Linked DNA regions of Homo sapiens: regions 2 and 3 are each linked to region 1. Evidence: promoter capture Hi-C in human tissues and cell types (Jung and others, 2019). All regions are on one chromosome and are shown on one strand. The core of a region is centred on a gene start or on the middle of the fragment in contact, and the rest is flanking DNA. Distances in the headings are between cores, read along the strand shown. Region 1 holds the start of IL11RA (interleukin 11 receptor subunit alpha). Region 2 has its middle 14 kb from the start of RECK. Region 3 has its middle 2.9 kb from the start of ARHGEF39.

Region 1 (3,063 bases), core at 329-2,828:
GTGTGAACCTTCAGAGATCTAGGGTTAAAAGCTAAAGGCATAGCTCCAGCTACAACTTTTCTTTGTCTACAGATGTGTAAAATCTTGATGCAAAAATCTACCCCAAATTTCTGAACAAAATTAATATTCAGTATTATATCTAGCCTATAGATTCTCTTACTCTTGGTGTAATGACAGCATTCCCAGTTTAGGAAACTGTTTTAAAATCTTGTGTCTTGGTTGTGGCTGAGGCTTTGGGAAGGCCAGAGCCCCCTTTGCCACCACCCCTAGGGTGTCAGCTCCAAGCCTGGGCCTGAGGGTTTGATGGGGAGCGGGTGAGCTGGATCCTGATCCCAGTGGTCAGTGGCCAGATCCTGGGCTGCTGGCCAGAACCCTGGCTTTGTGAGTGGCTGCAGCTTGGCTCTGCTCCAGCCCACAGGGGCTAAAGGGGCGGGTAGGGAGTGTGTAGGGAGCGTGTACGTGGCTTTGTGTCCTTGGCTCCTCCAGACTCTCACATGTGCGGGCACCATATACTTCTGCTGCCCTTGTGCCCCAATCATTGCACAAACAGAAACAGCTCTGACAGAGAAGGGACTGCTAGAGTTAGGAACCCTAGGGCCTGGAAGGAAGGTATGGCTCTCAGAGTGACCTGGGGTCTATTCAGTCCCCTCTGGACCTGTTTCCCTGGCAACGCTGTGGGAACAACAGTCTATGCAACACAGGAGACCTGATGCCACTGGTGTCCTCCAAATTTTAAGGCGAAGGCAGGCATTGTGAATGATGCAGGGATGGCCAGAATGGTTTTTGCCTTCGTTCTTTCCCCAGGGGAACCAAGCCTGTGGGTGGGGAAATCACACTAAGGCTGGACAGTGACTGAATCTGGCCCAGGAGAAACTTGGCTGCCTGCCTTCCAGACCAGGGTTTTTCTTCCCTGAGATCCTGGAGGGGAAGTACCTGGAACTTGGGAGTGTTGCCCTGGTCTGGAAGATCTGATAGACATAGTATGCACACATTTCCCTCGAGCTTCCCATGACTGGGGAGTAGATGAGAACCCTGAGTGGGTGGCTGGTTTCTTGAGGCATACATATACCCGACACACCTTACACCTCTGATTTGGCTGCATTTTGGAATCATCTGGGAAGTTTTAAACAATACTGGTGCCTAGGTCCAACCTCCAGAGACTCTGATTTAATTGGTATGGGGTGGGGTTTTGCAGTTTTCAAACCACAATATCCAGCAAAGTTTGAGAACCACTGCCCTACACAGCCCTCCTTCTTCTTTATCTTATCTGGAGTCAGGGGCACCTTCAGCTTCTCCAATCACCTGGCCAGTGGCTCTTGTTTCCAGTCCTGCTGTTCCAGGGTGGATAGGCCTTCAGGCGGAGACCCAGGAATCCAGCTCCAGACTCTGTCCCAAGCAGCCTCTTCAGTCCGGGACGGGACAGGAAGTGTCCGGCGGAGGTGGGGGTGGAGGTGATTGGCAGTTGGAGTCTCCAATGGGCCAGGAGCCCCCCTATTTCACTCCTCTCCTTCCATTGGCGCCTGGGCGGAGCCACCCCCGCTGCGGGGGCCCAGGGCGGGAGGGAGTAGAGGCCGGGGCAGAGGGCGAGGGCGAGGGCAGAGGGCGCTGGCGGCAGCGGCCGCGGAAGGTGAGGCCTGGTGTAGACGCCAAAGTCTTGTCAGGAGTGGGCGGGGCAGGGTGATGTATGATCTGAAAGGCCGGGAGTGACTAACGACTGTCAGTGTGTATGTGCCTGTGAGGCTGTGTCTGTGTGACAGTATCATTGTGTGCGATTCTGAGTGTCACTTGGTGCAGCTGTCAGCTAATGTGACTGCGTGTGTCAGTGTGCATGGAGCTGGAGGTGCATGTGGCTGTGCAAGTGTGGGATTATGTGTGTATCTGTCAATGCACATTTTTGGTGGGACTGGGTTGTGTGTTTGTGTGAGAGGGACTGTGACCACATGAGGGAATGTGTTTTGGGAAGGTCTCTGTGGGGTTTGAGACCATGTCTGCCAGCGTGAGAGTGGGTGGCTGGCTTTGTGTGTGCCAATGTGTGACTTCAGCAGTAGCAGAGCAAAAGTGAGGTTTGTGACTATGTGTGTGTCCTGGGTCCTAACTTAAACCGTGTGGGAGTACAGCTGTATTCATGTATTGGGGGACCTACCTCAAGAGCCCATGGGACTGACCTTTCTCTTAAGTGTCCAGCATTGACAGACACACCCACAACACACGTGGCTTCCCCTCCTTCCTCTGCTCAAGAATCCCCAGCATCAGGTCTACTGCTCCTTATTTTCTGTTTCCCTGCTTGGCTCAGTTTCCCTTACGTGCCGTTTTCTGTCCCTATTGCTGTCTTACTAGAGATACCTCTGTGTGTTTCTTCACAGCTTTGTTCCCCTGGTCTCTCTGTGTGGGTGCATTTCCAGTTTTGCCTTTCCTTTCTCTCTGTCTCTCTCTGTGCCCCTATGCCTGCCTTCCCTGCTGATCTTGATCTCTGGCTAGTTGGGGGCCTGTAACAGTGATGAGATGCGGGTCTGCCCCGGCTAAGAGCTCCCTGAGAGAGGGGGCTTAGACCATGATGAAGAGTTGCTTTTAGGCGGTGCTGTGAGCCCTGGTAGGGGCTGTGTGCGTGTGTGACTGCGTGAGTGTATGAATATGTGTAAGTGTGTCTGAGTCTGAGGCGGTGTGGCTGTGCCCGTGTGACTGTGAGTGACCGCATGTGAGAGTGTATGAGTCTGAGGGTAACTGTGGGTCTTGTGTATCTGGCACCAAGGGACCAAAGGCATTTCCTGGTGCTGGGGCCCAAAGAATGGAGGGGGAGGTGAGAAATGGCTGGAACTTCCAGGGGAGGGGGAACTGGACTCTTTGGCCTCTCCTTATATCCCCCAACCTGGGGCCTCCCTTCCCCTGGAAGCACAGCCAGCTGTACCCTAAGGAAACATTTGGTGAGGAGTGAAAAGAGGGGGAGTTTGTATCTGATTTTTCATTTGATTGTGTCCACGTGTGTTCAAAGGCATGCCCTTTTGTTAACTGTGCCTCTTGAGTCTGTGTGTGAATGTGACTGTGTCTGGCTGTGTGAAAACACAG
Region 2 (3,806 bases), core at 833-3,332, 1.4 Mb after region 1:
CGCATCTGGCCTCCTAGTACAAAATTTATATTCAATTGATAATAGCTCCTACCACTGCTTCTACAGCTGCTGTTGCTGTTATAGCCCTTGCACTGATTTTTTAGCATGTCTGTCTTCTCCTAAATATTGAGCTCTTTAAAGTAGAAACTTTGATTTTCATCTCTGAGTACCCAGCACTGAGAATCAGGCCTGGCACAGAAGGTGTGCTCAGTAGCCATCTCTTGACTTGAGCCAAACGGCCACGGCACAGACACTGTGTGCTTGCACAGGTACAGGACAGTCTCACAGCTCCTTGCTGGAAGTGCTCCTGTAGCAACCTGGGAAGGGGTCAGATCACAAAGCAGAGCTCGGAGGAGATGGATTTCTACAGAGTTTGTATGGTTTTCAAGCACAGGGTAAAATAAAGCCAACTGCAAAACCTCTGGATTGTCAACAAGCTTATGATGACCCAGGATAAATCACATGTGAGCACCTAGAAATCCGAAAGAGAGATTTTTAGTTCCCTGAAAAAAGCAAGGGAAATCTCAGGACCAGCCTCAGAAGCAAGTCAGTGTCTTTCGTGAGAGCTGATGGGGAATGAGGAGGAGGGAAGTTCAGAGATAACTGAACTTCAACTTGGCCAAAACGTGCAGGAGGCCCCTTGCTATCCAGTCATAGAGGCTCACTGGTGAAGTGAAATTTACTTAAAGGTCAGTAAAAGTTTAAAGTCTTGGCACTGGAGTTACAGGGTACCTGGGACTGACTCCTGGCTGATATCACCAGAGCAGAGGAGTTCTTGGCCCATCTGCCCTAAGGGAAGGGAAGAGACTAAATGTCATCAGTCACCTGCCCTTCTATGGGGACATCATCAACCACTTGACCTGTGAGGTCCTGGCTGTCCTGAAGTTGGCCTGTGCTGACATCTCTATCAACATGATCAGGCAAAAGGCCTTCTCCACCTGCTCTGCCCACCTCACAGTTGTGGTCATCTTCTACAGGACCATCCTCTTCACGCATGGGAAGCCCAAGTCGAAGGACCCACTGGGGGCAGACAAGCAGGATTTTGCAGACAAACTCATCTCCCTCTCCTATGGAGTGGTCACCCCCATGCTGAACACCATCATCTACAGCCTGAGGAAAAAGGGTGTGAAGGCTGCTGTGAAGAACCTGGTATTTCAGAAACCCCTAACTGAATGACAGACTGTCAGAATCCCAGGTGGCCAGAACATATGATCTCTAAGCACCTCACTGTGCTCATGGGGAAATGATAACTCAGAGGAAAGAAGGGACTTTCCCAAGGTCCAGGCCATGAACCATGGGACTAGGACGAACAAGTAAACTGAGTGTCCCCTGTTGTGTCACAAGTAATGGAAGCTTCTATCAAAGGACCTAGAGGGAAAGTGCCCCCACATTTCTACTTTTAATTTCCCATTGCCCCATTTCCTTACCTATCTATTTTTAATTTTTTGGCCTTGAATACATTTTTGGGTTACCACAAATCCTTTCTGACATGAGAGTAGGCATAATTGCAACCAAAGAAACAAAGCAACAAAAAAGCAAACAAAAAACCCAAATGAACTAATGACAAGACATGGCAGTGGGGGTTGGGGTGGGGGCTGGCCGTCGGAGCCCCTCCGTGGACCTTAGCTGTTTCTCTCCCCTGCTAGAAGCTAGTTTTAGACTGCATGGCTTTGAGGTCCTTTCAAAGTTGACCTTCCAAGGCAGTGATTCTAGCCACAGGACCTTGAGTATTGTGGTGTATTAGGCCATTCTTGTACTGCTATAAAGAAATACCTGAGACTGGGTAATTTATAAAGAAAAGAAGTTTAACTGGCTCATGGTTCTGCAGACTATACAAACATGGCTCCAGCATCTGCTTAACTTCTGGGGAGGCCTCAGGGATCTTTTACTCATGGCAGAAGGTGAAGTGGGAGCAGGCACTTCACATGGCCAAAGCAGGAGTGAGTGAAAGAGAGAGAAAGATAAAGAGAGAGAAAGAGAGAGAGAGCAGGCAGGAGGTGCCACACTTTACAACAACTGAATCTTGGGAGAACTCACTATCACAAAGACAGCACCAAGCCATGAGGAATCTGCCCGTGATCCAAACACCTCCCACCAGGCCCCAGCTCCAGCACTGGGGATTACAATTCAATATGAGTTTTGGGTGAGGAAAGTATCCAAACTATATCATGTGGAAATACCACTGGCCATCCGAATTGAATTATTATAACAGCAGCTTCTAGCACTTCCAGAGAAAACAAGATAGCTGTTCAAAGAGCATCTGAGGGGAGGGAGTGGAGAGGCAGCCGCTCAGGTCAGCATAGACCACAGAGTGCTTTCAGCCCAGGCCAGGCAGCCTGACACCTGCCTTCCAAGTCCAGCCCTAACACTATTTCCCGCTGCTGAGCACTTGGCTAAGTCTCCTTCCTTCTCTGGGCCTTGATTTCTTTGTCTGTAAAATGAGAGCGTATAGCCCGTCCCTGTCACTAGCCAATACAACTGGGGACTGCCAGAGAGGGGGAACTCATGGCTCGCACCCCACCACCCGCCACTCTTTGATTAGGGGTCTCCTCTGGGGTCGCCCCTCCATTCATTCCCTCCACAGTTCGTGAGCAATTGTTCCTAACTTCCAGTGCCACTTACAGAATTGGGTGGCTGGTTGCAGCTCTAGCTACCTGTGCCTGCTGCAAACCTGCCACCTGGTGGACATTGCTGAAGCTGACAATTGAAATTTCTGCAAGCTCCTGAGATAGGTGCTTCTCAAACTTGAATGTTTTCATGAGTTATCTGAGAATGTGGATAAGGATTCGGTGAGTCTGAGGTAGGGTCTGACATTCTACATCTCTAACAGATTTCCAGGTAATGTCTATGCTGCTGAACTCTGCAGGCCACGCTTTGAGGAGCAAAGCCCTAGAAGATGTGGGACCAGGGCAGGAGGGCTGAAGGAAGAGGCAGGGTAGGAAGACGTCCTCGCGCAAGTCTCCTACTGTGAGCCAAGCCCTTGGGCATCAGCAAGCCTGTGAGGTGTTCATCAGCCCGGCAAATTCCCTCATAGCAAAAGCCTAAAATGTCAATGCTTTTAAGTCTCTGGGTTGCAGATTTCACTTAATTTTTGGCCTTTGAGTATCCCTTAGTTTCTGGAAAGCTCATCAGTACCTTTTAAAAAAATGTTTTTACATTTTATTCAGCATGCTCAGTTGTGTTTCACACTCAGCAAGACGAGAATACTCAGAGAATCTAATTGTTCATGCTGCCAGAAGAGATACCCTTGACCAGTGTGGTTTTATATTCCCAAAATCAAGTTGCCCATTTGCTCCCCCTATTCAATCAATAGTTTCATTAATTCATGGAGATGAACAAAGACTCCCTAGAATGAAACGTTTGTTTTTCTCTTAGAGTGTCAAATTAGACAATAATCTTAAAAATTAGGCTTTCTGGCCAGGCATGGTGGCTCACACCTGTAATCCCAGCATTTTGGGAGGCCAAGGCAGGAGGATCACCTGAGGCCAAGAGTTTCAGACCAGCCTGGGAAACATGGTGAGACCCCATCTCTACAAAAAAATTTAAAACTAGCTGGGTGTGACAGCACACACCTGTGGTCCCAGCTACTTGGAAGGCTGGGGCAGGACCACTTGAGCCCAGGAGTTCAAAGCTGCACAGAGTGAGCCTTGATTGCACCACTGCACTCCAGCCTGGGCAACAGAGTGAGACCTCATCTCAAAAAAATTAGGCTTTCTGAGAGAAAAGAGAGTTTTTAAAAATCCAGAATTTCTCTTTTATAGATTAAGAGCAAAATTGGGGGTTATCAGCAGTTTGGGTTTACCTTT
Region 3 (3,806 bases), core at 521-3,020, 1.0 Mb after region 1:
AAAAACAAAATGTCAGAAACTTTAGGCTCCCTCCCTACTGTTTTGGACTCCTAGGAATCTGGGCCGCAAGCCAAGAACCAGAGGATTGTCAGGGTTCTGAGGTCTCTACCACCTCCCCACCAGCTCTGACATTCTAAGAATTCTAAGAAAGGAATAATGCTGGGCTTAGACCAGGGAGGAATAACTTGAAGGGCTTGGATGAAGGAAGGGGAGAGTTTGGATCAGACTGTACCTTGGGCTTATGTCCCAAGGAAACTGGTGGTGATACCAGATAGGTAAAGGACTGGTTACACTGTCTCAAGTGAATGTGGGACAGTCCACACACTAAGAGCTCAAACATGGAAGAGGACAGATAATCCCATGGTAATTGGTGTCACTGTGAGCCCAGGTGATGAGAGTAGACCACAACACCTGGGGTGCAGTTGGTGATGGGTGTGTTTGTGAATGCTGCCAGTGTGTGTTAGTGCTTTGGGTGGGTGGAAGAGGGGTGGGGAATAGAGCCTCCTGTGAGCATCGGTTGGGGAATCATTCAACTCTAGAAGAGGAAGAGGGCAAAGCCGAGAAGACACACTGAAAACAGTTGGTGACAACTAATTCCCTGGGGACCGAGTCTCCCACAGAGCAAGTCAGGCACACCATACTCTACCTGGAACAGCTGCTAAACTCCGCTCCCACAGCCAAAGATAGGAGGGGCCAACAGGAGGAGGTTCAGAGGATAGTCAATAACCCCTTTATTCTTTAATTATCCTCAAATTTTGCTTTCAATCCGATGGATGCTGGAGAAGCACTAGGGATGCTTTGAACAACAATCATCAGTCATTCAACAAAATTAGGCTGGGCATGGTGGCTCACGCCTGTAATCCCAGCACTTTGGGAGGCTGAGGCAGGCGGATCACCTGAGGTCGGGAGTTACAGTTACAATGGCTGTGTGCTTCTTTATGTGTTGTCAGAGACCAGCCTGACCAATGTGGTGAAACCCCGTCTCTACTAAAAATACAAAATTAGCCGGGCATGGTGGCACGTGCCTGTAATCCCAGCTACTTGGGAGGCTGAGGCAGGAGAATCGCTTGAACCCAGGAGGCAGAGGTTGCAGTGAGCCGAGATCATGCCATCGCACTCCAGCCTGGGCAATAAGAGCGGAACTCTGTCTCAAAAAAAAAAAAAAATTAAATGCCAATCATGTGCCAGGTCCTGTGCTAGGCATGAAGATGAAATGGTGGGCAAGAGACATATGACCCCTGCCCACAGGGAGCTTACACTCCAGCATGGCAGATACAGTAAGGAGTCACCATAAAATGAGGAAACATTACAAGAGACATGTAGTCTTCTACACAAGCATGCAGTGAAGGGACTGATCCTAGTGTAGGAGTCAGGGAAGGCTTCTTCTCAAAGAAGTGATATGTGAACTGATGACCTGAAGGATGAATAAAACCTGGCTAGGCAGAGCTGGGCGCTGGCAGCAAGGGAAGTGGAAAAAAGAGTCAAACAGCATGGACAAAGGCTTGGACACACACATATGCAAGCATACGATGAATTTAAGGAACTGCTAGAAGTTCTGTAAGATGAGAGCATAGACTGCAAGGGAGAGAGTGATGACAAAGGAGACTGGAGAGGTAGACAGAGGCCAAACTTAGAAGGAATTTATATCAGTAAAATTGTGATATAAGTAATAATAAATTCAAAGTGGCTAAACATTAAGATAATTTATTGGCTCATGCAACTGAAAAGTCCAGAAGCAGGTGGGCCCTAGTGTTGGCCTAATCCAGCAGCTCAATCATGTTACCAAGGACCTCTTTCCACCACTCCACTGTGCCTTCCATGGTTTTACCTTCATCTTAAGGCTGGCTTCCATTGTGGGTACAAGATGGCTGCCCACAGTTACAATGGCTGTGTGCTTCTTTATGTGTTGTCCGCAGAGTTGGTTCCCTTAGCCATCAAATACTTCAGACAGAGAGCTTCACTGATTGGACCTCCCTAGGTCACAAGCCCACCATGGAAACCAGGGCAATGGCGGCCCTCTGAAGGCCACGTCAGGTACTGTGAACCTTATCCTAAGGGCAATGGGAAACCATTGAAAGGCCTTAAACAGGGAGTGAGATCATCAGATGTGCCATTTTAGAAACATCACTCTGGTTGGCTGGACTCAGCAAGACCCATCAGGAGGCAGTTGCAGTCATCCAGGTAAGAGGTGACGAAAGTATGAGCCAAGATGAAAAATGTAGATGAAAAATTTAGAAGGTAGAATCCATAGGGCATGGTTATTGAATGCTAGGGTGAAGGAAAAGATGAAAGTAGAGATGGTACCAGGTTTCTGGCTTCTAGGTGGAGGGTGGTGCTATTCACTGAAGGAGGATGAAAAGGAGATTTGCGGGGAAGACAAATTCAACCTGGGGCCTGTTAAACTTGAAATACTTGTGGGACATCCAAGTGGAGATGTCTTGGGTCTTGTCTATTAGGCAGATGGTTATGGGTCTGGCATGGGGAGAGAGTCCAGCCTGGGAATACTTGGGTGTCATCAATTTATAGGAGCCATGGGAGTGGATGACACGGCCTTGCAAAGATAAGTAGCAGGATAAGGGCAAAAGCATGAGAGTCTTCAATACGAACTCATCCCTTCTCATCCTGTGCGTCCACGTCAGTTCCCCTGCACTGATGGTGGACTAAATGGTGGCCCCATATAAAGACATGTCCATGTCCTAATCCCCAAGACCTGTATATGTGACCTTGTTGGGAAAAAGGGTCTTTGCAGACATAATTAGTTAAGGATCTTGAGATGAGATCATTCTGGATTATGTTGGTAGGCCCTAAATCCAATGACAAGTGTCTCAGTGAGAGACACCCAGTGGAGACACAGGGGCAAGAGAAGGCCATGTGAAGTTGGAGTAATGCAGCTACAAGTCAAGGAATGCCTGGAGCCGCCAGAAGCTAGAAGAGGCAAGGAAGGATTCTTCCCCAGAGCCTTCAGAGAGAGTCCAGTCCTGTCAAAACCTTGATTTCAGACTCTGGCCTCCAGAACTGTGAAAAAATCCATTTCTGTTGTTTTAAGCTACCCACTTGGTGGTAATTTGTTACAGCAGCCCTTGGAAATGAATATAGATGGGGAGGTAGCCAGAACTACAAGTCAGCCTCAAGGTTCTACAAGGAATTTGATCAGTCTTTGCCCCCAAGCTATGGCTTGGGAGAGGGAGCATTTTCCCTTCTACCCCACCAGTGAATAGTTTCCTCCTCTGCCATGCTGGGATAGGCAGAGACATGTTTTAGTAACATGACCCCTCAGTGTTTGAAAACACAAACCCTCATGAGCAAACACTTGGCCTATAATAACCACAGAGAGGTCCTGATCCAGGTGTGGGGTGCCCTGGTCAGTCAGTCCTGAGTATACTCTGTCCCAACCCGGGGAGACTCAGGAAACAATAACTCAAACCTGTTTGAGGGTTTGGCAGACTCCCAGCATGATCCAGGGTCAGAGTCCACATTCTCCACTCAGACCAGAGACGAGAGAGACAGAGAAACAGAGCCATAGGGAATCGCATTTGAAAAATGAGTGAGCTGTAACAGAGAGCTGGATTAGTCGTTACCACATTCTGTCTTGTATAGGCCCATCCAATTCAGATATTACCATGTACTTCCATATGTCAGGGGCCAAGCAAGTTCCAAGCTAATGACAGAGCTGACCAAGACAATCAGCTGGCCATCCAGAGTGTACCCTGGACCACACTGCCATGGAGAGCTCTGAATTTGGCTCCAGAAATGGCACCCTAGAATCTTAGGCTGACTACATCTGAGGTTGACCATTTGGAGGACAG

The links. The method cuts DNA at HindIII sites, captures the fragments that hold promoters and counts their contacts. A contact is called where the count stands out against the background at its distance.
Region 2: a contact is called between a fragment that was not itself captured here and the fragment with the promoter of IL11RA in region 1, in 1 of the 25 tissues and cell types used here (spleen).
Region 3: a fragment that was not itself captured here is called in contact with the fragment with the promoter of IL11RA in region 1 in 1 of the 25 tissues and cell types used here (dorsolateral prefrontal cortex).

What each region holds. Positions count from the first base shown.
Region 1 is chr9:34,650,607-34,653,669 of GRCh38, forward strand. It overlaps IL11RA (interleukin 11 receptor subunit alpha), which reads left to right and starts at 1,579. Exons shown (of 13, transcript NM_001142784.3): 1 at 1,579-1,627. It overlaps GALT (galactose-1-phosphate uridylyltransferase), which reads left to right. Exons shown (of 11, transcript NM_000155.4): 11 at 1-429. RefSeq lists a silencer at 1,535-1,634. The HindIII fragment of the contact is 13,062 bases long and covers 1-3,063 here.
Region 2 is chr9:36,020,943-36,024,748 of GRCh38, forward strand. It overlaps the pseudogene OR2AM1P. Among named protein-coding and RNA genes, the nearest start is that of RECK, 14 kb to the right of the region's middle. The HindIII fragment of the contact is 5,782 bases long and covers 1-3,806 here.
Region 3 is chr9:35,666,160-35,669,965 of GRCh38, forward strand. No RefSeq gene overlaps it. Among named protein-coding and RNA genes, the nearest start is that of ARHGEF39, 2.9 kb to the left of the region's middle. The HindIII fragment of the contact is 9,733 bases long and covers 1-3,806 here.